4 separate regions of the Homo sapiens genome follow, and all the other regions are linked to region 1. Evidence: promoter capture Hi-C in 16 types of primary human blood cells and fetal thymus (Javierre and others, 2016). All regions are on one chromosome and are shown on one strand. The core of a region is centred on a gene start or on the middle of the fragment in contact, and the rest is flanking DNA. Distances in the headings are between cores, read along the strand shown. Region 1 holds the start of ITPRIP (inositol 1,4,5-trisphosphate receptor interacting protein). Region 2 overlaps LOC105378464 (a long non-coding RNA gene). Region 3 has its middle 78 kb from the start of LINC02620. Region 4 has its middle 7.1 kb from the start of SFR1.

Region 1 (7,909 bases), core at 2,441-4,940:
AAATGCACATATCCTTTGATCAGCCCTGAAACTATCAAGGCACTGACCCAAAATAGCCACCTATATACAAGCTTCTGATGTGAGAAAAACAAATCCTTATTTGTTTAAGCCTTTTATAGTCTTAGACACTATAAAAATTACAGTCTGGTATTCCGTTACTTGCAGCCAAACATATTCCTAATTTATAATTTTTAAAAAGAATAGGGGTGAAGGAGGACATTCATATCTTGCACTGACTTTAGAAGATTTCTAGTATTTCCCCATTAAGCATAACACTGGTTTGGGGGCTGAACTTTACCCTTTGTTTTTACCATGTTACAGAGGGTTTGTTTATATGTCGATGCCAAATTTTATCTGATGGCTTTTCAGCATATATGGTGATGATCTTTCCATTTTTCTCTTTTGATCTATTAATGATGTAATATTCTTTGGTGTGCTGCTGGAATTCTATTTGTTAATATATTATTTTAAATTTCTGAAATAATTTATATATTTATAAACAATAATATATTACTTTTCTTTCCCCTTTTCAATGAGCTATTTTTATTAGATTTTTGACTGATATATTACCAACTGCCTAAATAAAAAAGAATTTCAATCATTGAGGTTTTTTATATGTAAATGACTAAACTTTTTATTTCTACATATTATAGCTGTACTTTTTCAAATTTACCTGTTCTTTTTTCATAGTCCTATGTCCTATCATTTTATCTCTGTATTTTGACCATAACTATTTGATACTCTTTTTCAAATTGTTCTATTGTCTCAGATACTTAAGGGGCTAATTTTCCTGTTTATTACATTTACCAGTTCACACCCTCATGTGGTTCATTTCCTAGTCTGGTTTTTAATTTTTTATTATAAGCTTAATGATTATTAATAATTCTTAATTTTAAGAAATTAAAATAATATAAAGAATATTTTAATTTCTTATCATGAAACATTTTAATTTCTTATTGTAACTTCAATGGGAGTTGTTTATTCTGCTAGGGACCAGGATAAACAACCGAATTTTACGTTTGCTTCTGACAGGGCCAAGGGGATTCACCACTTTGAAACAGGTTTTTTGTGTTTTTTCTTGACATTAGGATTCCCTCAGCACGTGGGTAGTATAAATTGGGAGCTCACACCTATGCATAGTATAGGCAGGCTAGGGGTTTTCATTTCTATAGAAGACATTTTAAAATTCATCCAGGGCCGGGATAAACCACAAGTTTCCTTCCCGCGACCCTGAGCCAATGGGGAGAGGGCTTTTTTCTATCCTCCTCTTACTAAAGGGCAGCCTTTCCAGGGTTCCAGCCTTAGGCAGAGATCTCAAGTCCAGATCCCTGTCTTTATAGAACTCAAGGCCTGAATAGATACTAACCCCAATCCCTGAGTGGGTACTCACCCCTGGTCCTTAGTCATTTGGGCTTATATTCATGTCATGCTTTTGAGTTCCCTTGACCTATCTCACACCTGGAGACCCCCTTTCTTCCCTTCCGTTGTTGATATATTTTATTCAGCCTTTCACTGTTCGAAGCAGGAGTTCCCTGACTTCTTGACTCCTCAAGTTCCCATAACTTGAATCTTTGTACTTTCCTATCTTTTAAAAAACATTTCTCGAGTTAGCACAGTGTTCTGTAGAAACGACAGGAGGGGTGTCCAATCCAGACATGAGGGTTCCAGGAAGACTTCCTGAAGGAGTAACTGCCTGTTCTGAGACAGGAAGACTGAGCATACAATTAGTCGGGCAAAATAACATGCATGTGCACTGGGGTGACAGTTTGGAGGAGGAGGTGGGGTGGCTGTGGCAGGCAGAAAGTAGAGTACATATGAATATCCAAGGGGAGAGAAAAAGCATATCATGCAAACAGCATATCAAAGAGCATATCACGTTCTGGGAAGCACAGGTTCCAAGAACTGCAAGGAGTTTTGTGTGGGACACAGAGTGAGATATGAGGCTGGTGAGATAAGCAGAGGCCAGTTCATGAACGACTTACAAGCCAGGTAGAAGGGTGGACCTTAGAACAGACAGGAACCAATCAGAACACAGAAGGTGAAATCATCAGGTTAAAAGCAAAACAAATATAATAAATATTCCTTATATAAATATACATGGCTGGTTAGAAATTGCTGAAACAACTTTGCAGACGGGATGACAATCCCAGAGGGCATTCAAGCACTAACCTTGGCATTCCAGCACAACGCTGAACTCTTAGCCCAAGGATGACAAAGCTCAGCCCAGCGCTCTTACTTCACAGAAATTTCCCCCACCTGCTTTGCGGAGGGTGTGAGTAACCCACCGGACCAACTTCTAGACATTTTGGAAATACAGCTCTTTCAAGACCGTTTCCCCAGATCGCCCCCACCACCTCCAACACACATACTGGCCCCCAAAATTCTGCCATAACCTCTTACGTAAGGAAAGAATTTGAGCAGCAGTAGAAACTTGAAAACAAAAGTACCCTGGGCCAAGGGCCAGGGAGTCTATTTTTAGAACATTTTCTCATTGCCTGTTTATCTTTCAGACTCAGCCAAAAAGTCTTCCAGGCGAGTGTTAAAGGAAAAGACGAAAAAAAGGTGATCTAAGACCAAATAGCAGTAGCAATGGTGATCATTTTGGACACTGTGTTCCAATTTCCCCAATGTGCCTTCACTGGCATTTGGTGCCCCCAAAGCCGCTTAATGGAGAATTCATTCAAACCCTGCTCTGCCTTTTGTACTGATGGTAGGATTTGGGCAGGTCAAAGGGAAGACAATAGAAGTTATGGATTTCATAAACTATTAAGCTCGACCAGAACGCTGCTGCTGCTCCTCCAGGCCTCAGTTCTCTCGTTTCTAACATAGGGGTAGTAACACTTGATCTACCGTCACAACAGTAACCAGAAACTACCGCGCCTGTCCCGTACAGTATCCGGTCACTGTTCTCCTTTGTGCCCGGTTAATCCCGGAGAAAAGCAACCATGCATTTGATTATCATAAAAGTCGGGCGCGGTGGCTCACGCCTGTAATCCCAGGCGCTTCGGAAGGCCGAGAAGGGAGTTCGAGACCAGCCTGACCAACATGGAGAAACACCTTCTCTACTAAAAATACAAAATTAGCCGGGCGTGGTGGCACATGCCTGTAATCCCAGCTACTCGGGAGGCTGAGGCAGGAGAATCGCTCGAACCCGGGAGGCGGAGGTTGCGGTGAGCCGAGATAGCGCCACCATTGCACTCCAGCCTGGGCAACAAGAGCGAAACTCCTTCTCAAAAAAAAAAAAAAACGGTAGTAAGCTATTTTAATCCTTTCAAGCTGCAAAAGAGAAAAAGGCTGGCGTTTTGTCTAGAGTTATATTTTCCTCCAAGAGACTAAATAGGTGGCCCCAGGAATTCCGCCACTTGTAAAACGCGCCGCAGAAAACTCTCCCCGACTGGTAAGGACTTAACCCCTTCCGCTCCGCGGCTTAGGACGACTTTTAAGGGCGTCCTCCCCGCGCCCCTGTCCACTCGCTCCAGTTTACTCCACTGGCCTGATTCCGTCTCTCCCAGTCACTCTCCAGTTCTGCCGTGCCGGGGAAGTTTCTGGGGGCTCACTGGGAAGGTCTTCCCGGCGGATCCTGGGCCCAACCACCGAAACCCACACGGTCCTCCTTAAGGAGCTTCCGGGGCCGCGGGTAGAGGCGGGTGTTTTGTTCTTATAAGGAGGAAAAAGTTTTTGTGACATCCAGGAAATGAGTAACTCTGAAGTTCAGTAGAGCCGGCCGCTGCAGGCCAGAAGGTGGGAGCCAGCGGGGGCATCGCCGCCCGCGCCCCTCTAAGTGCCGGGCCGCAAGCTCCACCGCAGCCGCCTGCAAGCAGCGGCGCCTCGGCCCTCGACCTGCGCGCAAAGCCTGTGCTGGAGCCGTCCTCCCGCGGCGGGGACCGGGACCGGGGACCCAAGCCAATCGTAAGTCCCAGGGCAGCCTAGTGTGCTGAAGGAAGAAGGGCGCGATGGAGAGCGCGAGCTCGGAGGAGCTGTGTCGGAGATGGCTGCCGACAGAGGGGGCGCAGGAGGGTGTGGGGAGCGCGGGCGCCTGCTCCTCCCGGGTGGGGGCTGACTTTGGAGACCCCCTTCCCTTAAAGCGCGCGTGCCCAGGCGGGCGTATTGTCTCCTCGCGGTCCCGCATCCTGTTCCCGCCGCGTCGGGGGATGCGTCCCGGGCGCTCGCTCCAGCCAGGGCTGCGGGCAGCTCCTCCTCGAGGCGCGCGCAGCCTCGGAGCCCAGAGCGGGACCACATTTTTGTTCCTAGTGGCCAGGTGACCCGTTACTTCTCACATCTGAGCAGAGCGCTACCGAAGAAAGAAAAGCCGGTTCGCCCTGCTCATTTGCTGCCCCCTTTTCCCCTTCCCCTTCCCTCCCTTCCTGTAAGGGAGGAATAGGCGTGAAGTTTTTTTTTCTCGGTTCATGGTAGTGAAGTTATGGGGCTGCTTCAGGCCGGATAAAATCCCCGCCGCTTCCTCTTTCGGGACTATTAGTGGGCCAGACCTCACGCTGTGCAGACTTGCTCTTGGGCTGCAAATAACTCTCTGCCCCTTCACCCCTAACCCCACCCTCAACCCCATCCCTGTGACTTTGCCATTCTGGCCGCCTGGTGAAGACTCCCGGGGCGGGACTCCCCATCCAAAACGCTTTCTCTTAAAAAAAGAAAAAGAAAAAGAAAAAAAAAGCCACCGACCAGGAAGGTAAAATATTTTACGGAACCAGGCAGGGGCCTCATTTTGCCTTTTGCCCCTCTGCTGGTATGAGAAAAGCACCCTTTCACAACTAGTAGAGTACCAGATACTGGTCTCATTTCACAAACAGTAGAGTACCAGATATTGGTCGCAATCTGGACTCTGGTCTTTTGGATCTAAATCGGGGTCGCGGTCTATTTTCTTGTTCTTTTTTTGGATATGACCCAGTGCTCTTGCCTTTTACAAACCGAGTCTATCTGACTGCCAGCTAAAGTTCATCTGTGGTTGGTGCAGTTTTAGGCCCAGGTGAGCCCTGAAAATAGAGTATCAGAAAAGTGGATTACTGTCTTTCCTCCTTACGAAAACAGAATAGGCTGTGTTTTTGAGTCCTCCCTCCAGCCCTCGTGCCTAAGTGGCTTTCATTGTTTGCTAATTCCCTGTATGTTGCGGCTGCTCTGGGCCATTCTGCCTTCGGATTTTCTCCACTTGTGGGTAACCATGAAGTAGTTATACTGACTCTCTGCTCTCCCTGGGTGCATTCTTCTCATGCTCAGTAAATCTACATTTTACGTAAGATAAAGTAAGCATGTGAAATTATAGCTATCTGTTTGGCAACAAAAGGAATGCAGTTTTGTTTTCGGTTTTGTTTTTTGCATGACTGAGTTCCCAAGCTTAACTTTTCCCTTTGGCATCCTGAGCTTGGGGTCCTAAGGTTGTATTTTCCTTTCACAGCTATCAGCAGAGACAGGTAGCCATCAACAGTTAGGAAAGAGTCTGGGCTGGGTGGCTGCCTGTCTTCCCAGAGCTTTGGGAGGCTGAGGTGGGAGGATTGCTTGAACCCAGGAGTTCCAGGCTTAGAGCTGGGATCACTTGGTTGGGATCACTTGGTTGGAGCTAGGATCGTGCCACTGCACTCCATCCGGGTGACAGAGTTCAGACCCTGTCTTTAACCTACCCCCCAATGCCCCGCTGCCCCCCCCCCCCCAAAAAAAAATAACTGGGCAGGAGAAGGTGCTTTCAGAGTCCAAGACTCAGGTTCCATGTTTCGAGTTGAGAGTCTGCCCCAGTAGGGTTGAGGTGGCACGGCAGCCTGTGGGGCTTTAATGGAGAATCTGCTTGGAAGGGGTGGGTGCTCCAAGTGTTCTGGGAGCTGAGAAGCAGGACTTTATTATGGATGACACCAGGCCATCCTGGACCCTTCTCTCATCCAGTCTTGCTGGGGAGGGGTACAGAGCCAGGAGGATGCTGAGAACTGTTCATGATAACCTCCAGGGCTGCTGCTAGCCTATTCAGTCCTTCGCATGAATTAGAATAAGGTGCTCTGTCTTGGCAAGAGGATGGGGCTTGATGCCTCTTAGAAATACTGGCCTTACTTGAGTGGACATAGCCAAGCCATATAGCTGGATAAGTGGCATGTGAGCTGGATTTATCCTCACCCCTCAGCCAGGTGCCTTAAGCAGTACACTGCCTGGTCCACCATTCACACAGCAGCCCTGATAAACAACCACTATTGAGGGCTTAACATTCGCCAGGCTTTTTTTTTTTTTCCCCAAAAGTACTTAGCCTGTATTAACTCATTTAATCCTCACAGTAGCCGTATGAGTTAGGTATTGTTAACTCCATTTTACAGATGAGGAAACTGAGGCACAGGGATGTTAAGTGTTCCAGAGCCTGGAAGGTGAGTCTTAATCACTGGGCATTCATAGACCAAGAAGCAACTTAAGCTTAAAAAGCTAGTTTAATTGGGAACCCTCGTGGGAAAGGGGGAAGAACAGTTGCCTTTTTCTTTCTCTGTCAAAGGAGGAAATACCCATTCTCAGTCCAGGTGGAGGAAGGAGGGGAAATTCATCTGGCAGGAGGCAGAGGAGGAAAGAAAAGAGGCAAGCCGGGCCTTGATGGCTGATGGGGAGCCTGGCCCAAGAATCAAGTGACTTTCCTTAATCTCTGGGCGGTGTGAGGTGGCAGATCCAGTTTGGGGCCTGGCATGAGGGTGATGAGTAAGTGCCCCCAGGTGTGGCTCAGAGGGAAACGGCGGTGGCTGCACGCAGGGTCCTGACCTAGGCAGAGAGCGAGTGGAAGGAGGTGAGACAACTGTCCTGACCTTCCAAACCCCTAATCCCCATCTGTGGTCTCTTGCTTCCTTGTTGAAGTCCCATTCACCCACAAATGCCCTTCTCAAGTTCGTCCAAGAACCCTTCCTGAAACTCCATTTCACAGTTCCATATACATGATCTCTTAGTTTCCACACCGTACAGCTGAGCGCTTAATTAGCTGGAACCGAGCATTTCACTATGTACTGTCGATAGGCACTTTAAACAAAATAGGCTTCTCATCAGTGAGGAAGTCAAGATGCCTCCTGGGAGGGGCCAGCTGGTGCCCAGCAGATTGCTCAGAGGGTGGTGTTTACCTGGATCACGTCACCTGTCCCAGGGCATGGCTCTTAGCTGTGCCCGCTCAGAAACCCAATTTCCATAATTTTCAGAGTGGTTTGGACTCAAGCTACTGATTCACCCTGAGAAAGCTCCCAGAAGAGGGTGTACGAATCAGAATGCTGGTTTATTAATTTGCAAGGAGACTTCGCAAACATCACACAGACTGAATGTCGTCTCTTCCCTGCGTCCTAGACAAGCCATATGGGAAACCAAAGACCAGAAGGTGGACTGCGCTTATCAAAGCTGGAGTCAGAACCAGGCAGGAGCAGCATGGGGTGAGGGTGGGGGACAGTGATGTCCAATAGTGCAGGGCTTTGTCTACCTCTGCGGCCCTCTCACCAGCAGAAAGATAGCTGCCAGGTAGACTGGATACTCAGGTCAGCCTGGCTATGGGCATCTCCTTGGCCAGTGCCTCAAGGGCAGTATTTCCCTGAGAAATCCTGGTAGCATTTCTCCCTTTCCTCTCTCATAATGTAGTAATTTTTTATTTTATTTACCTATTTGTTTAGTGCTTTGCAAGCATTAGCTCCCAGAGACATAGATTTGCATTTGCGTAAATTCGATAACTACTGTACAATCTCAGAGTTGTAGGGCCAGGCCATGAGAGTAAGTGCTATATGCAAATCAAGAGGATGATCCGGTAACCTGGATGGATCAATAGAAAGCCAAGCATAGAGCAAAGACACGTGGTCCCCAATCAGCATGGAGGCTGGGCCAAGGCTGGCCAGTTGTTGCATCCCCTGCGTAGGCCAGGGGGTGAAGCATTCCTAAAGCAGTGCCTGCTTCGGCTGCCTCAGGCAGC
Region 2 (7,909 bases), core at 1,992-4,491, 240 kb before region 1:
TTTAATGGACTCACAGTTCCACATGGCTAGGGAGGCCTGACAATCACGGCAGAAAGGGAAAGGAATGTTTTACATGGTGGCAGGCAAGCAGAGAATGAGAACCAAGTGAAAGGGGTTTCCCCTTATAAAACCATCAGATCTCGTGAGATTTATTCACTACCACGAGAACAGTATGGGGGAAACTGCCCCCATGATGCAATTATCTCTCACCGGGTCCCTCCCACAACACAAGGGAATTATGGGAGCTACAATTCAAGATGAGATTTGGGTGAGGACACAGCCAAACCATATCACCTGCTTTCTCCAAACTGATGACAGCCCCATCTGATGTTCAGGTGTCCAAAACAGCTCCTACCCTTGTTGAGAGTGTGCCCATTAACCCATCACCCAGGTGGCACCAAGGAGTACCTGTCTGTGTTCTCAGCAGGCTGGAGGAGGCCCTCCAGTCACCCTCCCCTGAGGGGTCAGTTCCAGATTCCAGGAGACAAGCAGTGAGCACAGTGAGCAGTTTTCCTTCAGCCTCTCATCATATCAGCTCTCCTCCAGAACAGCTTAGGAACAAAACCCAGGGTGATCTGAGCATGCCCTACCAGTCTCCCTCATGCCTTCCACTTCCAGCCAGCCATGGACCAGCTCACTCATAGCCCTCTGCCTCCCTCTCGGGTCTCCCCTTCTGGGGAGCTGCTCTCTGTTCCTGCAGCTGCCTCAGCAACTCCTGGAGAGTGGTTTGTAGCCAGCACCTACAATCGCTCAAGACGGGTCTGCCCTGAAGGCCCATCCTCACAGCAGGTGCAGGGGAGGCTGACTCACCCATAACTCCCGCTAATTGAGCCTCTGCACTCCCCTGGTTTCATTGGGTTCTGAGTAATTATGAAAGGAAGACCTCAAGCCCTTGCTGTGGAGTCTCCATTGGCTGGTGAGTTGTGAATGGGGAGGGTCTTATTGATCAGGTTCTTATTGGAGCCCTGATTTCTCCTTTGACTGAAGGATCTGTCTCAGGAATGGCAAATATAGGATTCAAAGGCTGCCTCTCACCCCTCCAGTGCCTGAAACAGACATCACTCATGGATCTCAGCACATTCTCCTAGCTCAGTATTCTTTCCTGCACTGCACTCCTGGCAGCCGCTATGACGGTGGCTGGCACTCAGTGGGTGACCTCACTGGCCTCCCTGCCTGGGTGTGAGGTGCTCTACCATATGCTGCCTGGGATCTGCACATATGAAGGCATGATTTTTTTTCTTCCCTCAGATAATCTATTATTTAGTTGGGAAAAAAAACAAGATCTGTTGGGTTAAAATGATTTTTTTTAAAGAACTAGACATTTGGGTTGACTAATGCTTTTTTTTTCTTGAGGGAAGGAAGGCTAAAGTATAGTGGTGTAACCAGGGATGACCAATACTTAATGAATGCCTGTATGAGGCAGGATAAGACGTAGATTTTTCCCTAATGGTAATCAGTTAAGAATGTGGGAGACACCTTGGAAACAGCGACTGAATCACACAGACCCAGTTTAAATTTCAGCTCTACTACTTTGGAGCCACGTTACCTCCTCTTTCCTAAGTCTCAGCTTCCCTGTCTATGAAATGGGAGCAACAATATCTGAAACATAGGGCTGATGTGAGTATTAAATGAAAAAAAAAAATGAAAGTGCCAAATTCCTACCTGTAGCCCTGGCCTCTCCCCTGAGCTCTGACTTGTAAATCCAGCTGCCCGCCAGGCCTCCCCAGGTGGGAGCCTGCAGCATCACACACTTGCCATGGCCGAAAGAGATGCCAGTTCCCTTCTGAGCCTGGTCCTCCCACAACCCTTCTCCTCTCATTCAGTCTCACCACCATCCACACCCCAAACCTGAGGGTCTCTTGATTCCCCCCTTTCTCACTCACATTGCCGGTATCAGTCCACTAGTAGCCCTGCCAGTCCCAACTCCAGTGATGTCCTAAGTCCATTTGCTTCGTTCCATCTCCACCAAGGCCACTCTAGGCTCTCTGGACTTTGCAATGGCCCCTCCCTCTACTGCACCCACACCTGTGCTCCATGGCCTGTTCCTCACAGAGCATCCCAAGGTAAGACAGGTCACACTACCCGCGGGCTTGGACTCCTCATGGTACTTGGAATAAAACCCAGACCCCCTTCCGTGACCTCCACAGTCCTACCGAGGTCCTACTAAGCCTCAGCCTACCTTCCATACTTGACGTCCTGCCACACACTCCGTGAAGGACTGATTAAACAAATGCCTGCTTAATATGCATTAGTCTCCATCTTCCTTTGCTTTCTCGAAGAAAAATGAAAACATTCATATGGCACCTCAGGGTCCTGATAGGGATCTGAAGTTTACCCCACCTTGCGACACTTCCCCACCCCCCTGATCAATGGAAAAATTAGGGTCATCGCCACCACTGCTAGTCACAGTTTTCTACCTGGGGCTTAAGCTTTGTCTTCCAACATCGTCCGTTCTTCTAAGTTCACACTGTTTTCTTTTCATTGTGCACCTATGTGCCACCACACCGCAGAAAAAGCAGGCAAAGCAAGACCTGCGGAAGTAATGAAAACTCTTTGGTGCCCCCTTGTGGTCATGTCTGGTTAGCCGGCGGAGACGGGACTGTAGGCTGCTCTGGCGTCTCTGCAGAGCGGAGCCTGAAACTGGAATAAGAAGTCTTTCCAGGTGCCAATCTTAGAGATGTACATCCTCCACCCCCAGGAAGAGGCATCCAGGTAGAAATGCTTGACAGTCAACTTCTCTAAGTCTCAGATTCCTGATTGTTAAAATGAGTATAATGATTCCTTCCCAGCCATCCGAGGAAGGGTATTGTGAAGCTATACCATGAGATCTGTACTTTTTCTGTTGCTTTAAAAAAAAAAAAAGTGTATTCCAGTACTCAATCTTCACAAATTCTACAATGTTTCTCCTGCCTCTGCACCCCTGTCTGTTCCTACGAACTTTCTGTAATCCCCAAATGAGTCAGGCAGGATGGGAGTGAGGACGTGCTTGAGATAATGTGTCTGACAAAGAGGTGCCATATGCTGCTCGGCGTCATACGAAAATGTACCAGAGAAAATGTCAGCGGCAAGACTCGGCAAGTGGTGAGGCAGAAAGTGGGGGTGCTGCCATCTCCTCCCCCCTCACACCGCGCCGGGAAGCTCGAGAGCAGACACTGGCTTCTGGCATTGACAAAGGAATGGGAGGCCGGGTGAAAAGTCAAGTATCTGTGATTACGAAAATTAACCCTAATCTCCTGAGTTTCCAACTCTTTTAGAATTCCTATCTGGAAGACATTCACCTTTGCACCCAAGCCTACCGAAGTGTTTGTACCAAAGAGGTACTTAATAAAGAGGCAATGTATGAATGAATGAGTTAATAAATGAGTGCATAAACCTGATTTCAAGGAAAGGTTGGCGACGTCTACAGCCTCCCACTCTGAAGCTGCTTGCTTGCTTTCTATTTCTTTTTCTCTTTTTCTTTTTTTATTTTTGGAGTCTCTGTCACCCAGTCTGGAGTGCAGTGGCATGATCTCAGCTCACTGCAACTTCCGGCTCCAGGGTTCAAGCAATTCTCCTGCCTTAACCTCCCAAGAAGCTGGGATTACAGGCGCTTGCCACCGCACCTGGCTAATTTTTGTATTTTTAATAGAGATGGGGTTTCACCATGTTGGCCAGGCGGGCCTCGAACTCCTGACCTGAAGTGATCTGCCTGCCTTGGCCTCCCAAAGTTCTGGGATTACAGGCGTGAGCTACTGCACCTGGCCCTGAAGCTGCTTACTTTCTAGCCCTACCCAAGCCCAAGGACACTGTATCTGTCTCCTGTAAGGCTCAGCTTTTTCTACATGTCTTATTTTGAGTACAGTAAAAAAAGGATCATGGCTGATTTTGTCATAAATGCCTGGATCCTTTAAATCCCTCTCTCTGCACAGCTAATTTTGCATTGTCTGCTATCACATGGTTTTAATCTGATTAAAGAAAATCTGCCTAACAGTAACAGTGAAAATGGACAACTTTTTCTTCCAAATAAGTAGTTCTTAACTCTGGCCGACCATTACAATGGGCTGGAAAGCTTGTACACACATAAACACACACACACACACATACACACACACACACACACACACACCTCAACAGTCAGGCCCCATCCCAGACCTATTAAATTGAAATCTCTATGGCTCAGGACCCGGGCATCGGCATTTTTGAAATCTCCTTAGCTTATTCTAATGTGCATCCAGCGTTAAAAACCCCTTCCAAGAATGCGCTGGCCTTTGCCCAGAGAGCACAGACTCACCAATTATAAATGAAACAAAAGCAAGATTTTATGTTGCCTCCTAGGCACCCTCAGGCCCAAGCAAAGAAAAAAAGGAAGATTCTCAAGCCCAGGAGTGATAAAGAGTTCGGTGTTCACTCCTTCTTGGATATCTTGCTTGTTAATGGCCAAGAAGGGGAGGGGACCCCAAAAAGCTGGATCTGCCTTGACCAGGTTAAACAGAGAGAGCAATTTGGGAGCAGGTTCCAGCAGATATGATGGCGTCAGCATAGGCTTCAGTGTGGTCGTGACAGTGCAGTCTGGCTTGCGTCATGGCGATGGGGAAGGGAGGGTGGGTGTGGGGGCACTAACTGGGTGGAAAGTGGGCTTTCAATGCAAATAGCCAGACATTCAGGGGATGCTGCCTGTGCATAAGGAACCCACTGTTCATTTACAATTATGCTTTCAAAAGCCACTCATATATTTCACACGCGGCACATAAACCTAAATTCAATCTGCTACATTGTAATTTCTTGCTTTTAATTTAAGGCCTCGGGGCTTTAGCTAATTTAAGGGACAATCTGGTGATGAAGAGGAGACCATCTTTTTACAAAAAACATCATTAGCATAAGGCACTGCTCCCCAAATTTAGAGCCTAGTGGTGACTTTCCAAATCTTACCTGTACTTGAAGAGCCTTCTAAGCTCTGCACCTTAACCACATAAAATAAAGTCCATCTACCAGGTAGCAAATCATGGCAATGTGCATCTCTTATTTTCCACCAAACCGTTTGTTCATTTAAAGTCTCTGCACTCTTAAACATTAGATGGCAGCCTTTGAAATTGCAGAATAAACATGAGCACGATTCGTCCCTTTACTGGGCTCAAACAGTGATCTGAGAGGCGTCCTGGTGGTGCTCCGAGAGAACAGCAGTCCTCACTTCATCAACAAGCCCCAAGCTGAGATCAGAAGTCCCACCCCAGGCTCGGGTACCAATTGCTTGTCACTGACAGACAGGAGTATCGACAGACCGGTCCTTTGTGTCTGATGGAAACATGAGGGAGACAGGCTCGGGGAAGTGAAGGCACTGGCTCAAAGGGAGAGAACGCTGACTGGAGTTTCTTGGGATTGCATCAGCCAGATCCAAGCAAGTGTTCTGAGCCTGAGTGTCCCACACAGGGCAAGGCCTTCAGACAAACTTTTGACCATAGCGAAAAGTAAGTTACAGTCACTGACACTGATTTTCTGAGAGCTCATCACTGGGATCTACTGCACAATAGCCTGGACTTTCAAAAAGCATCACTTCCCTTTGTCTCGCCCTCAACTCCCTATCCTCACCTACTTCCCCCTCTGTCCTTCATAAGTGCCTGCCACATAGAGGACACTCAATAAACATTTGTAGCAAAGCTCCCAAATCGCAAATAAGCAACCCTCCATTAGAAAGCTAACCCAGGCAGGGCGCGGTGGCTCACACCTGTAATCCCAGCACTTTGGGAGGCCAAGGAGGGCAGATTGCTTGAAACCAGGAGTTCAAGACCAGCCTGGGCAACATGTCAAGACTCTGTCTCTTCAAAAAATACAAAAATTAGTCAGGCATGGTGGTGCACACCGACTACTCAGTAGACTGAGGTGGGAGGATCATTTGAGCCCAGGAGGTCAAAGCCACAGTGAGTTGTGATGGTGCCACTGCACTCCAGCCTGGGAGACAGAGACTCTGTTTTAAAATAAAAAAAGAAAAGAAATCTAACCCATAAAACAAGAGAGAAAGAAATCCAGCATACATTCTGTTCTTTTATGGGAAGATTTTTTGTCCAGATCGCTTTTACTCACTGTAAGCACTCAATCTTAAACAATCATAAACTCCCTAAAGAGTGAAGAAAACAGGCGTTGCTGAAGCACTGTCTGCACATGGCTGAGTGGCCCTGAGGCCCCAGAGTGGGGAGCAGAAGTCTTGGCACCGCCCTTGTGATTAAACGGTTCAGTGAGTGAAAGCCTCCTATGTGTAAGTCCTGGTAATTCTTCCACTTCCTTCTTCTATCAAAGAATGGGATTTAGTGAAGAAATCTCTAAGACAGGAAGACAAAGATGAACAGGAGGTGGTCTCTACTTTGGAAGAACTAACGTGGAGATGGAAAAGATGGGTGTTTGTTTATTTGCTCAATAAAGCACCTACCGAATATCTGCTGTGTGCCAGGCACAAAACAGACACGGTCTCTACCACATCAAATTTAGAATTTATGGAAACACAAAGGAATCCACTCATCTCACAGACAACTGTGAAACTGCTTCTGAGGCAAATGCGAAAAGGGAGATGTACCCGGTTAGAAGCACCCATGACAGGCAGATGGAGCCAGGTAAGAAGTGTCCATGACACAGAGCTGGGGCCCAGTGAGAGGTGCCCATGACACGGACATGGGGCCTGGCCAGGCTCTCAGCAGAACCCCAGGCAAAGGACATTTGAACAAAGGTCTAAAGGATGAAATGGAGAGAATGTGGTGAGAGGGGTTGAGACAGTGTTCCAGGCAGGGGGAACCATCTACACCGGAGCTTGGGGCACTATGCAGGGGCCGCCAGTGAGGCAAGGAAAGCTGGTGAGACCCTGGACCCCGAAGGCCCTCACAAGTCTTGTAAAAGTAGTTGGGGATTCTCTCCTAAGGGAATAATGTTAGGTTTTTATTGGTGGAAAGGTGCAGAAGTGGGGATTGGAGGTAACCTAATCAGAACTGTTTTTAGAAAAGATGACTCTGCTGCTTGGAGAGTGGATGGGAAGAGGCCACAATGATGTGGGCCAGCCAGGACAGGGGTTCCATTTATGTAACCATTAAGTGGAGTTGGGAGCTGGCCTTTTAGGTAATCACTGAAGATGAAAATCACACGTAATTAACATTATCCTCAAAAATTCCTTAGCCATTAAAAGTCAGTAAAGTGACATCTCCAGTAGGCCCAGCCCAGCCAGCATTGGAATTGATCACCGATTCTTTGACGGAGCCCCCGATTAAGGTAGCTGTGTTTGGGGTCGAGGTTGTAAGATATAGATTAGATGAGCTAGCTAGCTAATGGTTCAACACTTGGTTCTCACCCAGCTTGGAGAGATGATCCCCCGCCTGGAAGGCTGTGGGAACCAAGCCTGAGCAAGGAACAGCAGATTCACACCTTTGATTTCACATTCACTGCAGGGTACATTCTCTGTGAGTGCATTAATCGGCTTGGGCTGTCATCACAAAATGCCAGGACTGGGTGGCTTACACAACAGAAATCTCTTCTCTCACCATTCTGGAAGCCTAAGACAAAGGTGTCAGCAGGGTTTGTTTCTCCTAAGGCCTCTCTCCTTGGCTTGCAGACGGCTGCCCTCTCACTGTGTGCTCACCTGGTCATTTGTCTGTCCACAAGCATCCTTGGTATCTCTTTGTGTGTCCAAATATCCTCTTCTTATAAGGGCACCTGTCAGTGTGGATTAGAGCTCACCCTAAGGACCTCATTTTAACTGAATTGCCTCTTTAAAGGCCCTGCCTCCAAATAGAGTCACATTCTAAGATACTGAGGTTAGGGTTTCAACTTACAAATTTTGGGGAGATAGGCAAAAATCTCTCTCTCCCCCTTTCCCCTTCCCTCTCCCTCTTCTCTCTCTCCAGTAGGTAGCGTAGCATTGCATTGCTGAAAGGTCAATGCACACACCAAAAAT
Region 3 (7,909 bases), core at 2,170-4,669, 220 kb before region 1:
CCCTGGATAGGGTGCTGGAACCGAGAAAGAATATTAATACTGTTAGTGGGAATGTAAATTAGTTCAGCCACTATGAAAAGCAGTTTGCAGATTTCTCAAAGAACTAAGAGCAGGACTACCATTTGACCCAGCAATGCCATCACTGGGTATGTACCCAAAGGAAAATAAATAGTCCTACTAAAATGTCACTTGCACCCGTATCTTCATCATAGCACTATTCACAATAGCTAAGACATGGAATTGACCCAGGTGCCTTTATCCAACAGTGGGTTGGATAAAGAAAATGTGGGACATATATACCATGGAATACTACACAGCTATAAAAAAAGAATGAAATTATGTCTTTTGCACCAACATGGATGCAGCTAGAGGTCATCATGCTAAGCGAACTAGCACAGAAACAGAAAACCAAATACTGCATGTTCTCACTTACAAGTGGGAGTTAAATATTGGGTACACATGGACATAAGACAGGAACAATAGACACTGAGGGATACAAAAAGGGGGAAGGAAGGAGGGGGGCAAGGATTGAAAAACTGCTTTATCAGGTTCTATGATCAGTACCTGGATAAAAAATTCATTTGTACTCCAAACTTGAGCATCACACAATATACCTTTGTAACAAACCTGCACATGTACCACTGATTCTAAAATAAAAGTTGGGGAATAAAAAAAGAAAGAACATTAGTAAAAAAAACAACATTCAAAGTCTATAGTTTAGTTAACAGTATTATACCAATGTTAATTTCTTAGTTGTGATAATTGTTCTACAACTATGAAAGTTGTTGATTTTAAAAAAAAAACTACAAGAGTACAGGAAAACTCTACTATTTTTGTAATTTTTTCTGTAAGTCTAAAATTAGTTTAAAATTAAAGGTTAAAAAAATGATGCTGTGTTTTCCTTGTTCTCCCCGCCTCTATTTACCTGGAAAGGGAGAGAGGAAAAGACACAGAATCTTTCTAGCTCCTTTAGAGTTACAAAGATAGAAGCAACCAACCCTAAAGCAAAGTGGATCTGGACTGCTCCAAGTAGCTTTAGGGGCTCAGAGCCAGATGACCAGCAGAGAGTGAGCTCTTCTTGGAATTCCAAGATGCTCCATCTTGAATAGTTGGCTGAAATTCACGTTCCCATGGATTTAGTTGTATCCTGATATAGGAACATGGACAGTTGGTCTCATTGGTCAAACTCCCCATGCACATGGGGAGCCCTTGCTCTCCTGTCTGTCTGCATAGCCAATCACTCATCCTCTCTGCATGCAGGGGCCCTACTAGGCACACAGTTCTTAGTGTTTCAGAAGACTTATTCCTCCTTCCTGTCCCAACCCTAACACTGCCGAACTTAAGCTTGACATTTTCTGCCGTCATCCCAGATGGCAGTGGTGTACTCTGTGTACCACGTGTGTGTGTGCACACGTGTGTGCATGCATGCACCAATACAAGTAATTTTCTACTTAGACTGTTTAATTTTTATATCAACAAGCCATATTCAAGCTAATGTTTTGGTGATATTTGTTAAGTTGAAATCAAGTTAATTGTGGGTAGCAAAAAGCAAGGGACTTCCAACAAACTCCTATCTCCCACATCTCATTCATTCAGTAAATACGTGTTGAAAACTTCTGTGTGTCAGGCAATGTGGAGCAATGCAAATGATTTATTTCCAATCCTGCCTTCTATGGCACAGAGTAGGTGAACCCTCTTTGATGCCATTCCATGACCCATCAAGGCATCTAGTTTTACTCTCAGCCCACAGGATTACTGTGCACCCACAGATACACGGAGAGCAAAGGTTAGGATCGATGTCAGAGAGACTTTAAAGGAATGAACAAAAACATGTGGTTATTAATTGGATATTCCAGATAAGGTGTCTGGGAGGAGAATAGGAAAGAATCATGGAGTCCATCCTCTGGTCCTGCTTTTAAATACCTGAGTTCAGATTCCAGCAGGAACCCCAGATCTGACACCAAGGAGGCCTTTTCACCAACCAAACTCAGTTCCTGTTTCTTCCTGTAACAGATTAAATCTTGTACCCATCCATAGGTACAGATTAAAAATAGCAATGATTTGGGTCCAACCTGACATGTAACTTTTTTTTATTTCTGTAGGGGAGAAGAATGAGGAACACATCAGCTTAGAGACAGACCCATGGACCCAGAGAAAGCTGTCAGATCTCACCCCACTTTTGTGATATAACCATGGTGCTTCAGAGGCCATGGACCACTCCTTCATCCCCACTCCTCCACTGTCCCCCAGACCGTTTGGCCGTTTGGGTTGCAGAGCTGGGACAGTGATGATCTACAGTACTCAAAACCACTTTCCCTGGGAGCCAAGACGAGCTATTTTTCATTTAGTCCCTTAAATATCTCTGTGTATGAGTGGGACACAGCCAGCTACCTTGTTGCCCAACACGTCAGAGAAGTGGGACTGTCCCACATTTGCTCTGCTCATATTTTTAATTGCTTAATAATAGTGAGTGGGCTTCCCTCCTCCCCTCCAGCATAGCAGCGTGGGGGACTTTGACATTCAGGGCTTGATGTGTGGGCAGCAAACACAGATGAGGCTGGGAAAATGTCAGCCTCCTACAGCTTCTCTCCCAGTGAATCATCATACCATATGACAGGGCACACCTCGTATCAGGAGCACCGGGCTGGCAGTCCAGGGAGCTCAGTTTCAGCCCCAGCTCCACTACTAAATTAACTGTGTGACGTAGAGCAAGTGGCCCACCCTGTGGGAGCCTCAAGCTCCTACTGCTTTGAAACATTTAAATGGCAATGAGAATTGGCAAGCAGAATATTTATGGAATAGAGATCATGGGCACAGGCTCAGGATCCAGACCTCCTGGAGCCACTCCTGAATCCACTGCTTGCCAGTAGCAGGAACTCAGGAGAGTTACTTAATCTGTCTATGCCATGATACTCTCAACTGCAAAGCAAGCATAATAGTACCTACACAACACAGTTGTTGGAAGGACTTAGAACTGTGCATAGCATGTTGTATGCATTCAATACATGTTTGTTGTTATTATTATTCCAATTCTAGCCATCTAATTGACTATATTTTCAAAGAGGAATAAAACATGAAAATTTCCCCCAGATACAGACTTATGGGGAAGATGAATACATGCATAAAATATTGGGGAGAGGAAAGTGGGGGCTGCCTGTGATGCACTGTGTAACAGAAGTGAGTGATGATACCATGTGTTCAGCATGTGCCAGAGGATGTGCAAAGGGCTCTGCCTGCGTTCTCCATGGAATCATTACAGCCGCTCATGAGGCTGATCCCACTTTATAAAGTGGGAAGCAGTCTCAGAGAATCTGCCTTCAATCTCATAGCTTCTAAGTGGCAGAGACAGGATTCAAACCCGGGACTTAAGTTGTTGCTCTTAACTCCATGTCACTGAAGGATTAGGTGGGATTTGAAAATACGTCACAAAGGAAATGGCAGCCTAAGCCTCCTTGGTTTTTTCTTATTTGTTGAAAAGGGAGGATTTCTAGGGCAGCTCCCATCAATGCTTATTTCTTAGCAATATAGGTAAGTTATTGAACCTCTCTGAGGCTGGGTGTCTTCATTTCTGAATAACAAGAGTGCCCACCAACAGAGCTGATGGGAGTAGACGAGCTTGTAGATGTAAACCCTTTTTGTTTGCTTGTTTGTTTGTTTGTTTCTGAGACGGAGTCTCACTCTGTCACCCAGGCTGGAGTGCAGTGGTGCAATCTCAGCTCACAGCAAGCTCCACCTCTCGGGTTCACGCCATTCTCCTGCCTCAGCCTCCCGAGTAGCTGGGACTACAGGTACCCACCACCACGCCTGGCTACTTTTTTGTATTTTTAGTTGAGACAGGGTTTCACCGTGTTAGCCAGGATGGTCTCAATCTCCTGATCTCATGATCCACCCGCCTTGGCCTCCCAAAGTGCTGGGATTACAGGGGTGAGCCACTGCGCCCATGTAGATGTAAACTCTTAATGTCGTGCCTGGTGTTTGGCAAGCACTTGTCAGATGTTAGCTTGTATCATCATCTCGTCATCATCATTGCTGTCACTCTTTCTTCATCATCATCATCCTCATCATCATCTATACTCAGTTTCCTTTCAGCTGATGGTCAGGACCACCTATCAGTAAATAGGTGATGGAACTTCCATTTTCAAAAGGGCTGTCAATATCCCTTCCAAACCACCTCCTAGTAGGTGCTTGAAATGTGACAATGAAACATTTATTCCTTAGGTTAAGCATTTGTCTTATGCCTGGGGTCTCCTTGTAAATATAACAGCCACCAGGAGGAATGAAGAACACATGATGCAATACTCAACCACATTTATTTAGTCATTTGAGAGAGGCCATGCCCTAGGCAAGGAATTAAGAAGATGACGCAGAGGCAGAGGAAGGTAGCAGAAACGCCACTCCAAATGCGGACTGGAGAGTAGGGAGAAGATACAGCTGAGCGCGGTCTCCTTCATAGTTCCTCCAAGGACTACTCTGTCTCTGTCTGCTGAGAGGCTGGGCCCCAGCTTTTGGGCAGGGGTTGTATATGAGCTGGGATCTCATTAGCATGGGCCACCAGAGTGCAGAGAGGTGAGTGATGGCTCCCCTAGAACGGAGGTGTGTTTGATGTAGGTTTGTCAACCTCACCATCCTTCACCAGCACCTGCAGCCAAGATTCATATCCTCTGTCAGAGGCTCATCCAACACCCCAAGCTGGCCTCCACCAGGGTCTAATTTTTATACCCTCTCTGAGAACAGCAAGCAATCTTTCAGGTCCTGAAAATGGGAAGACACACCATAATGCTCCATTTTTCCTGGGAATTTCTTAGAGGTTGGAGGCAGGATAAACTAAGAAGAGGGAAACAGAGAGGAGGATTTAGAAGGGATGCATTAACTACAGTCTTTTACCTATTTTCTACCATTGTTGCTCATGCCATCACTCCCCCCAGCCCCATGCCAGGTTTCTAGGCAATATCACCTTGAATAATGGTATATTATTTAGTATCAGTTCAGGATACTACTCTGTCACAAGAGAAAATGCTCACCAAGAGAAAATGATGCCATGACATGCAAGATGAGATTCATATGAGGAATAAAATTCTTACATCAAGATGAAACTATTTGAATGGTTTAGTTGGAAGGTCTGTATTGCCTCTCCTTCATTTTGTGTCACCTGTGTTGCCATGTTTATATTCAATTTGTTCAGTCCCGGTTACATGCTGGGCAGATTGCTGAGGGCTGGGAGACACTCAATGCAGAGTATGGCTGAGTTCCTTCTCTAGGAGCTCATAGTCTTGAGCCTGTGACTATAAGCCTACCAAGGATAGGAACTAGGTCGTGGGTTCCACAGTGGCTGGTATACAGCTTCTCAAGAACTGTCTTTTCAGTGCTAAATTTCGGAAGCATCTTTCATACAAAAATGATGTGGAAACTAACAGGAGTGAAGTTTTTTTATTCTTTTCCCTTATCTAATCCATTCTGAAGGGAAAGGTGTTTTCCCCATTTTTCATTAAGCTTGGACAACAGTAAAGATCAATAGAAATTGGCACCATGCCCTTAGTCAGTATCACCATTCATTGTGTGGAACTAGCAAAAAGGATTCTGGGCCAGAGGCTACAAGTTCATGCTGGCTCTCTCCTAGGTCGCTGTGTGATTGTGAGGCCCCTGGGCCTCTCTGATCCTGGTGCCATGTAAAGCTGGCTCCTCTACCTGACAGATCAGGACCCGAGAGGCAGCAAGAGCTCCATGAGGCTTTAAAATCAGGGTTCTGAGCTGGGGTCTGTGGGTTCAGCTCTCAAAGCCTACAACTGAGGAAACAAAATGGTGGCCCCCAGACAGGGGTTTTGGCCCACATAGGGTTTTAAAGAAAATTGAATTCATTCCAACTTTTAAAAATTAGGATACTATATACATTTTAAAATCTAGATGTCAAGCTCCCTTTGAAAACTATCAGAAAATCTGACAATGCTGGATCAGAAGCTGAACATGAAAACAGTCTTTCGCCATTGAAGATTGGCTGCATTCTTTAGACTGGGCCTGTGCTCTCTGGTCACCACAGTTCCTACCATAACCAGCTTTCCTCATTTAGCCAGCTCTCTGGAGCCTGTAGGCATCTGGCTGGTTAATAAACCTGACCAGGTTAACCAGTGGTCCAAGGCAGCGTGTGCCCGACACTGCCATGAGATTTACAGGTATAGGCACAAGATGGAACCCAAGAATCCAGAGGAAAGAGAGCTCCAGGGCATTGGGAAGGAAGCTGTTCAGGAAGTGAGTGAGAAATGTGTGTAGTCCTACCGTGGGTGCATGAGTAAACCTTTCTGGCTAGAGTGGGAGTTTGTGCAGGTGAACTGGGGGGACAAGGCTGAGAATGGTAAGTTGAGCTCAGACTGTGGGAAGAAGGGCCCTCAATGCCAGGTAATATTGTCCTCTGCTTTCATGCCAGAAACTCCAGATGTAATGTGGGGTTTAGGGACTAAGGCTGCCAAGCTCATCCCTGCACACACTTCCACCCTCACCTTCATAACAGGAGTTGGAGTGAAGATCTAGGCCTCAGGAAATACAAGGCTAAGTACAAAGTTCTGAAAGCCACCCTCAGCCTTCACAAAGTCCTCATCATGCAGGTTTCCTAAAGCAGCCAGAGGCATCCTACAAAGACCCAATGGCAGCAGGGGACAAACACCCAGGGCGAATTCTCTCAAGGAAAAGAATGGGAGAAAGAAAGATGGGAAAAACCTTCCTTTCAGCTTCATTAGAGCTCTTGCTTAACTGAGCTAAAAATAAAACTAATTGCTTTTGCTATTCTAATGTGAAAAATCAGTTTTTAAAGGATCAAGATTCTCTCCCTGGCTGGAGAAATCATTGAATCTGTAATAGACTGACTGCCAATGAATTATGAATGTCATAATCAAGCCTTCTTGGAAGGCCAAAGTCTTGGTTACAAATGGACACTATAATTAGAAATATACTGAAGCTGCCTAAAGCAGACCCCTCTCCCTACCCTTTGTCTTTTTTTTTAGGAGGGAAGAGACATAGACTGCTCTTCATCAGGTATCTGGCTTGTTCTTGAACAATGCCCTGTTCTCACCATTTGAGGAGACATTACAAGTCAGCATAGGAATAGCCATCCCTTCTCTCCTTCTCCCTTTAAAAAGCCCCACCAAACTCCCCCAGCTGTGATCAGGAGAATGGTTCAATTCTCTTCATCTATTACCTGGAATTCTATACACTAAAGATATACTTGGACAACAAGCAGCCTCTTTTTAAATCCAAGAGGACTAGGGTAGGGGCAGGTGTCAGTTGTCCACACCTTAATGGGAATCAGTTTGATCCAACCTTTTTGTCTGAACTAGCTGAGCTCTACAGAACTGGAAGCTGGAGGGCAGGAGGTGTGCATTTCAAAAAAGCAGATGAGAAGAGAAGGGCCATATTGAAGATTGAGAATCAAGGGAACATAAATGTGAACAGGGCTGCTGCCCTGCTCCAAGCCCTCAACCAGGAAGGAGAGGAGATCCCCGCACCCCCAACACAAAATCTAGACAATGTGAAAAAACCAATCTAGATTGACAGAGCCAATAACATCCCTCCAAGAAATTATCATGCTCAAAAAGAGGTTGCCTTACCTATTTTTTTTTTTAAGGTGAAGCCATTTTGAGCAAAAAATGGCTGGGGGTTGCTGTCCTTCCTCAAACCTTCTACCTTTAACTTGGTCCCTAGAGATAGAATCAGTTCTAGCCAGAAAACTCTTTCAGCAGGAGCTACTTCCAAGTGCTTATCTTATCTCAGCCATGGAAGTGTCCAGTTTGGGGAAGGGAGTCAGGGCTCTGCTTCTCTCTGAGCCCTATGAATTGAAAAATGAAGCAAGCAACTCAGTGCCTCACCACTTGCTAAGTGTGTCTGGACGGGCCTAATGACTGGTTCCCATCCCCAAGTGCAC
Region 4 (7,909 bases), core at 3,897-6,396, 220 kb after region 1:
GACCAGCCTGGCCAATATGGTGAAATCCTGTCTCTACTAAAAATACAAAAATTAGCTGGGCGTGGTGGTGGGCGTCTGTAGTCTCAGCTACTTGGGAGACTCAGGCAGGAGAATCGCTTGAACCTGGGAGGCGGAGATTCGGAGATTGCAGTGAGCCGAGATCACACCGTTGCGCTCCAGCCTGGGCGACAGAGACTCCTTCTAAAAAAAAAAAAAAAAAGAAACAAAGATAAAAATATACGCTTCTGAAACTAGGATTAAAATCCACTTGGGTGAGGAATTGTGTAAAATCCACATGATTCTGTTGATTTATGATGTCCATTAGGACAAATTAAACAAACTAAATTTAATACAAATTTATAACACAAGAAAATCTGCCAAATTCTCTTAACTGACTTTCAACACTTCTTATGACATTTGTACATAAGTTGAAAATGCCCTTCAAAAACTCTTCTATGAGTTTCTCTTGCCATGAATTCAAGTCGCATCTTATAGACCCATCCATGGTAAAGTGATGTTTTAGTGCTGTGTAATTTCATAAATTTCTCTTTGAGAATAATTGACAAATATTTCTATTTTTTTCTCTATTACCTTAACGATCTCACATGGAATTCCATAATGTGTAATGGCTGCACTTGTAGAGACTTTGTTACCAAACATTGACCTTTATGATTTAACTATTTCATATTCTTTAGCCAAGATATGCAAGAGAGGGTTTTATTATCAACTTCAAGAGAAAAGGGCCCTTGACATAGCTGTTAGGCATGCCGGAGCGATTGCCTCACTGAGTAGGATGGTTACTTAGAACACGGAGATACGGAGAGGATCAGTATTATTAGCACAATGAAACCTTTCCATCACCAGGCAGCTAGAAAATGTATCTAATAACTAATATTCAGGACAATGTACTAAACAAGAACCTAAAAAGCTCCCTTCACCTGAATTTCCTGTCCTTTTATTCTCCCAGATCTGGCATTTTGTCAAATCCATTAGAGACTAGAGAGGCAATAGTGTCTATGATTCACTGCTGTTACTGGGTGTGTTCCCTTGGAGAAGAATAGAGTGATTCAGGTTAGATTAATAATGGTGAGGGAGAAGGTAGGGCAAGTGGGTGGAGGGGGAGGGATAGTGGCATAGGAGTTAGATTCTTAAAAGGTAATGGGAATAAAAGTACTGCTCAGGGCCATGTTCTTCTCAGACTCTTTATTAAATGTCACTCCTGCATTTATTTGGAGGAAAAAAAAAGCATTACATGTCAGCAAATCCTTAAGCAAGAGAACATGTCTTTTAATCATCTTTAAATACCTTGAAGTTTGAGGAAACAACCCCCAAGATAATTTCACAGTATTGAAATCTGTTTAAAGTGCCGACAAACAAGTCATCTCAGTTTTCTACCCTTGCCTCTCATTCCTGTTTCAGTCTTGAGGGTATAAAAGGTTTCTTCTTGGTGGTATTTTTTAGACGGGGGAGCAAGGGTGTTTAAAGGTGCCAGGAAAATAGGGAATTAAGAGACCATATTCTAGGATACTACTGATCTTCGTGCTTCTGCTCTTCCACCTCTTGGCAAACTTTGATGATAAGTATAGTAGAGAAAATCTGTGAATTTAGCCTAACCAGAAATTTTCTGGCTCACGTCAGGAGCTGAGAGCTAGAATGAAGTTTAATCCCTTTCCCACCACTCTACCAATCAGGAGAAAACACTACGTCTCCACTCCCAAAGGCAAAGTAACATTACATTAACACCATCAACCTTTAGGAGCAGCGTCAAACCTGCTGAATGCAGAGCCCCTGACCAGAACTTCTGAAGCCCCCGTGAGGACCAGGTGGAGAGGCATGATCAAAGACGGGCAAGGTGGCTTGAGCAAAGACACCTCTTCATGGATCCTCTCCCTTCCACCTGCAAGATTGTGTCGAGTGCTCATGTCCCCCATACTGTGTCTAAATTATACCACTTGTCAGTGACAGCAACATCACTCAGCTCTCCACCTCCATGACACATCTGTGGCTACCCACATATAATGTATAAAGTTTGATGATGATGCTGGTGATCCTCAACTGGCAAGTGATATTATTACTTTTTGATACTAAAAATATGTCTTTCTTACAGATACTAAAAATATGTCTTTCTTACAGAAATAGGATCTTGGAAAAGAAGTATAGAATAAAAAATCATTCACTCTGACATAGTCCTCTAAGATTTCACCCAGCTATTTAGACTTTATTAGCACAAGATTAAGACAGATAATACTTTTCCTTCAACAATGTAAACCTTTAATTCAAACCTTTCCAAACTGTCCCACCCCACAAAGTTTCCCCTTATGTTCCACTCTGGTTGTTATATCATCTATCAAGCACATTATCTAAGCTATTTTTCACTTGATTTAAGTACCTACCTCTGAGTCAACTTGTCCTCTTCTTACAGCCACTTTGAAACCTTTCTTTTATTATTATTATTTTAATCAAGAGAAGGGTGATTTAAACAATTGTTTTCTAACACTCCCTACTACATGGGAATGATGGCTTAATATATCTCCATTTTACTGTTTACTCCCTTTCTTCTGCTCTGGTATGACATGAATCTACACCCTTTTATGAATGCTGGATATTGAAAACACACCTCTGTTGCTGAAGGTCTGGTGTGAAGGGAATTCATACTAAGCACAGGAATAACACCCACCAGCAAAGATGGTCTTTAGGATGGTCAGGCTTTTGGAGGCCTGTCATTTGGCAAACAGCATCCCATGATACCAAAGAATACAGGTTTGGGTTTTGGAGGCCAGGCAACTAATTACGTCCAGATTTGTTAAGCAAATTCCTATGAAACTATGAGGTACCGATAGGTTAAAAAAAAAAAAAAAAAAAGCAAGCATTACTACAGGTTGGCATTGTCTGAAATGCTTTCCTAGTCTAACTCTGGAGAATTAAAATAGAGATTTTAAACCTGCATGTACAAGTTTAGGATTTTTGTAAAGCTGCCAAATCTTTAATGTAACAATAATTAGCATAAAGCTTGTGTAATTAAGTTGCCCTGAAAAGAATGAGTTTGAATCTTTTGCAAGATGTCTCTCTTATTTAAAAAAGCAGTTTTACCAGTATATATTATTTTCACTCAGAGCTGTTTCCCACAGGTTTTGAAGAGATGTAAAGCTGACTGTGTTTTATTTCAGTAATTGTCTGCAAGGATAGCAGTTTATTTTCAGTCACTAGTTTTTGGAATGAATCAATCAACCACATTTGCCCACCAATATGTCTATGAATACTTTTCATTTTTATAGTTGAGAAGAATCAGTTTTATTGCTCCCCTCAATCTAGATAAAATTCCTTCGTGCTCAGAATGGGATTAAGTCCCCAAATCAAATGTGAGAAAGAGAAATTCAGACATATCAAGCACTAGATGCAGTAAGCCAGTACCTATAGTGACTTGATTTTGATGGGTAAAAAATAGCATGTAATCACAGGTTTGAACCACTACAGGTAAGAATTACATGGACTAATGAGAATACTTATGAAGCTGAAATTAAACATTTGCATACTAACTAACAGTTCTCAAGGCAAGTCTTAGAAACCCCTCAACTTCCAATCAATAACTGCTCAAACTGAGATTACAGGAAGCTTTCTTGGACTACTGTGTTCATAACTGAAGTCAGTTGTCTTGAGTGTTCAAATATTTTCTGCCAAGAATTGTGCAGGAGGAGAGGGAAGAATTGAGGAGGTAGGGGCAGTAGGGAAGGAAGGGAGGGAAGGGGGCTATATTTACTACATGTTTCTTGCCCTTAAGCAGAACAAAAACTAGTGTTCCAAAATGATGTTTTTCATAACAAATTACTGATTACTAGGCTTGTTTACTCCATACTAAAGTTATTCTGCAGATTTGACCTGGGTTTTAAGGCCTCAGCATCAGCTCAAACACCAAGAATCCTGGGCACGCTTAATTTGGGCTAAATTCTGACAAAGTCATGATTTCTTTCTTAATGAGAAATGTATTCGTCATGTTCTTAAGGCCTTTTGATACATTTGAGTTAAAAGGATTATGGAAGTTCAAGATTTTGTGTTTAATACAGGTATAAGCATGCATTACAGATACATGTGTACTTTCTTAGCACTGGTGGAATATTATAATGATCAGGTTAAACTTGATTATACCTTGTAACTTAGATAAGCCATTTCACAGTAGGTGAAATTTTGAATGAGTAAAGCCATAAAGCCACAGACCTTACTTATTTGTTTTTTTTTTTTTTTTTTCATTCCAAATCTTGTCTTTGTTGAGTTTTTTTGCTGTATGGAGTCAATTGGGGATGAAATGGGCTGTGGTCACAAACTGTGAAGGTGAGGTTGCTTAAATCTGTACTAAACATGAGATAATCATGGGTTGTCAGTTTAAATTGAGGAAAATTGGGAAGTCTTTGGAATTTTTGTTTGAATACAAGTTTTGGTGAATAAAAATGACACTCATTGATGTTTACAACATTTTTCTCCAAGTCATTCATTCTCTTGGAAATATGGCTGCAGCAAGGGATAGGCCTGAGTCAGAGCATCTGAGTTATTTACTGACCCTATCACTAAAAACTAACGAGCTGTATTGACTTTGGGGGGTTCAATTCAGTTTTCTCATCTATAAATTGTGAAGAGAAAAGTGATCTTTCCCTGGCTCTGAGTTAGTTCCTACAATTCCAGGTGGGGTCATTTTGGTACACCTGAAATTACCACTTCCCACCAGAGTGTTAAATGAAGTTACGGGTAAAATTCTCTATAGAAATAACCATTATGATAATATGATGGAAGATGTATTAGGTGCTGTAGACGGAAAAATAAATATATTCTTTAGGAGTTTACAAATGGACACCAGTATTTATCACATTGATTAAACCAGAGCCAGCTCTGGGAAAAACTAGCACACAGAAGTTTTTGTTTTTTTTTTTCCAGTGACCTTTCTTTCCTCTTCGCAGGCCTCCCACATTATCCTAATCGAACCCTTTCAAGCCCAGGGTTTTAGGCTACTCTCATCAACCACCTCTTGCCATTGCAGGGCATACTCCAAGTTATTTTGCTTACTTGTACTGTCATCTTCTGGAACTCATGTCCCTGTCTTTATTAACACTGGATGCATAGAGTTGGTGCTCAATAAATGTTTTGAATGGGTGAATTTCAGAATGAATTGATTAATTATTTAATCAGTAATTCAGAAAGTGAGCATCCCAAAATAAGAAGAGGAAGTGATGCTGTAGCAGTCTCCAGGGAAGAATATTTTTGATGCAACTGATACCTTGTGTAACAGCTTCTCTAAGGGGAAAACTGTTCCTCAAATCTAATATAAACCGTTCAGCTGTATGTTTTCTAATTATTTCTTATCATTGCTTTGTATTGTTCTGTCATTGGACCAAGGAAGATTACTTTTACCAGACTAGAAACATACAGGAAACATGTGGTTCCTTTCCAGATGATGATATTGGCCATCTTTGAAAGTGGTGCCTTTGTTCACAATGGGATGGGTTTTAACAGCTTTGTCTTTTCTCCCCCTTACCCAAATCTTCTGTGAGAGGTAGTATAATTTTTAGTCTGTGTAGCCAGGAAATAGAGTGAAAGTAAATTAAGTTTGTGGAAACCAACCATAACTTCAGCCTAAGGAAAACAAGTCAGATATTACAGCAGGAAATAGATATATGTTGGGTGGTATACAAAGAATACTAATTTTTATTCCACAATGCATACATGTATCAAAACATCACATTGTACCCCGTAAATATATACAATTATTATTTGTCAATTAAAGTAAAATAAAAGTTTAAAAATGAATCCTGATTTTATTAATTCTGCAAACTGTGCTGTATACCTGTAGTACAACTTCTGAAAAAGGTGGAGAAATGTGCATCCTTTCAGGGATAACATAACAAGGTAAATAAGTTTAATTTTTTTATCTGAAAAATTGAGGTTACTATTTGATTTTCTTCATTTCTCCACTTTATTTGCCTGCATATGTCCTGTCTCTCACTCCTCTTCAACATCACTGCTGCTGTTCGAGCTCAGGTCCAGCCTGCCTGCCTGCAATAGCCTCCTGACTGGTTTCCTGACTTCTGGGTTTTTCTTCCACTTTTCCTATACCATCCCATTTCTCATGCCCATCAATTCTCTACACTGCTGCTAGAAAGATCTTTTTAAAGATATTAAAATCTTCCAATAACTCTCAATTCTCTTTAGGATAAATCCAAATTCCTTACCAAATCACTCATGCATATCTTTCCAACTTCATCTTGTGCCACTCCCTGCCACCCACCCTGCACACCAGCTTTACCGAATTATGTGCTTAAAATTCCCAGAATGGACCAAGCTCCTCTCCTTATCATCTTGCTACTTCCTTCTGCCTGGAAGACACAGGCATGTGTATGTGTGTGCGCACACACACAAATGTACACACACATATGCTTTCATCACCTGGCTAATGTCTACTCCAATCTCAAGATTAGGACCTTGTGTCAAAATCCCCACTCCCTCTCACTTGCTTCCCAATGGCCCACATTCTCCTTTTATTCTTTTCCTCCTCAGAATCTTCTGGCTAGAGTTAGATGCCTTTCCTTTTCCATGGTACCCTGTAGGTGTCATAATACATATTTACCATGAGCTATTTGAGAACAGGAACTGTGTCTTTGATCTCTATATCTGCAACCCCCACAACAAAAAGCTTAGCAGATTTTTTTTGGGTTCAAGCAGAAGATGAAGTGCTAAGAATACACAGGGAAAGTCCTAAGGGAGTTCAGAGAAGATTGAGTCAAGGAAGACTTCGTGGAAAAAATGGTATTTGAGTTGTATTTTATTGTCGCCACAATAATCTCGATAGACTCTTTTCGCTTTTCAATCAACATTTTTAAAAAATTGTTAAAACTAACTCTGTAAAATATATTCTATAAGTATACAAACCTGGTAACAGAACACAGATCTCCCTTGGGTGATATAATAATAGATTTATGATTGAGAGGTTTTTAAACACTTTCCTAAGGGCTGATTGACAGGTATATATAACATCATAGGTTGGTATTTTCCACTCTTATTGGGTCATAGAGAAGAAAGCACAAGGTAGCAGTTAAGGGAATGTACACTAGAGTTAGACATACCTGGATTTAAATCTCAACTCTGCCCTTATAAAGTCTATTGATGATAATCTCCCTAAATGTTTCCTCATATACTAAACGGGGTAATAATATCTACTCCATTAAATGTGATGCTGCAAATAAAGCGATTAACACAGAACTTGGCATATAGTGACACTCAACATAATGGTGGTGAAGGTCGTTGTGGTAGAAGTGGTGGTTACCTTGAAGCCAGGGATGGAGATAGGTGGATGGGGCAGTACAAGAGAGAGATGCTTGATGACAGTTTTCTTATCTCTTTCATTTAGGCACAATGTCTCAAATTGTGCTCCAAGGGCACAATGGTTCTATGAACTGGTCTAAGGTGTTTCACAGGTAAAATAAAATTAAGGTGATATTTTCCAGGCTTGTAGAAAAAATTAAAAAGAAGTAGAATGTTTTCTATTTTAATTTTTTTCGATGTCCTTTCCTTAAAACTTTAGTGTCTGCAAGTGGATGACAGCAGATAACAGAATGGATAGTTTACAAATAAATATTAAGAAGAAAGATCAGTAAACTGATTTATTTAGTTTTAGTTTTTGTTTTTTTGAGACAGGGTCTCACTCTTTCACCCAGGCAAGGCTGCAGTGACACGATCATGGCTCACTGTAGCCTCAACCTCCCAGGCTCAAGGAATCCTCCCACCTCAGCTCTCCAAGTAGCTGGGACTATAGGTGCATGCCACCATGTCAGCTAATTTTTTTTTTTTTTGAGACAGAGTCTCGCTCTGTAGCCCAGGCTGGAGTGCAGTGGTGCGATCTCAGCTCACTGCAACCTCTGCCTCCCAG

Evidence for each region. The method cuts DNA at HindIII sites, captures the fragments that hold promoters and counts their contacts. A CHiCAGO score of 5 or more calls a contact.
Region 2: a fragment that was not itself captured here is called in contact with the fragment with the promoter of ITPRIP in region 1 in 1 of 17 cell types (neutrophils); the score reaches 5.7 in neutrophils.
Region 3: a contact is called between a fragment that was not itself captured here and the fragment with the promoter of ITPRIP in region 1, in 1 of 17 cell types (M2 macrophages). The highest score is 7.2, in M2 macrophages.
Region 4: a fragment that was not itself captured here is called in contact with the fragment with the promoter of ITPRIP in region 1 in 1 of 17 cell types (monocytes); the score reaches 6.1 in monocytes.

Annotation. Positions count from the first base shown.
Region 1 is chr10:104,334,246-104,342,154 of GRCh38, reverse strand. It overlaps ITPRIP (inositol 1,4,5-trisphosphate receptor interacting protein), which reads left to right and starts at 3,690. Exons shown (of 2, transcript NM_001272013.2): 1 at 3,690-3,909. It also overlaps a transcript of CFAP58 not described here. RefSeq lists enhancers at 1,770-2,064, 4,813-5,012 and a cis regulatory region at 1,128-2,547. The HindIII fragment of the contact is 4,481 bases long and covers 868-5,348 here.
Region 2 is chr10:104,575,635-104,583,543 of GRCh38, reverse strand. All of the region lies in intron 1 of LOC105378464 (a long non-coding RNA gene), which reads right to left. Among named protein-coding and RNA genes, the nearest start is that of SORCS3, 62 kb to the left of the region's middle. The HindIII fragment of the contact is 1,619 bases long and covers 2,432-4,050 here.
Region 3 is chr10:104,554,786-104,562,694 of GRCh38, reverse strand. No RefSeq gene overlaps it. Among named protein-coding and RNA genes, the nearest start is that of LINC02620, 78 kb to the right of the region's middle. The HindIII fragment of the contact is 4,146 bases long and covers 1,347-5,492 here.
Region 4 is chr10:104,111,096-104,119,004 of GRCh38, reverse strand. No RefSeq gene overlaps it. Among named protein-coding and RNA genes, the nearest start is that of SFR1, 7.1 kb to the left of the region's middle. The HindIII fragment of the contact is 3,064 bases long and covers 3,615-6,678 here.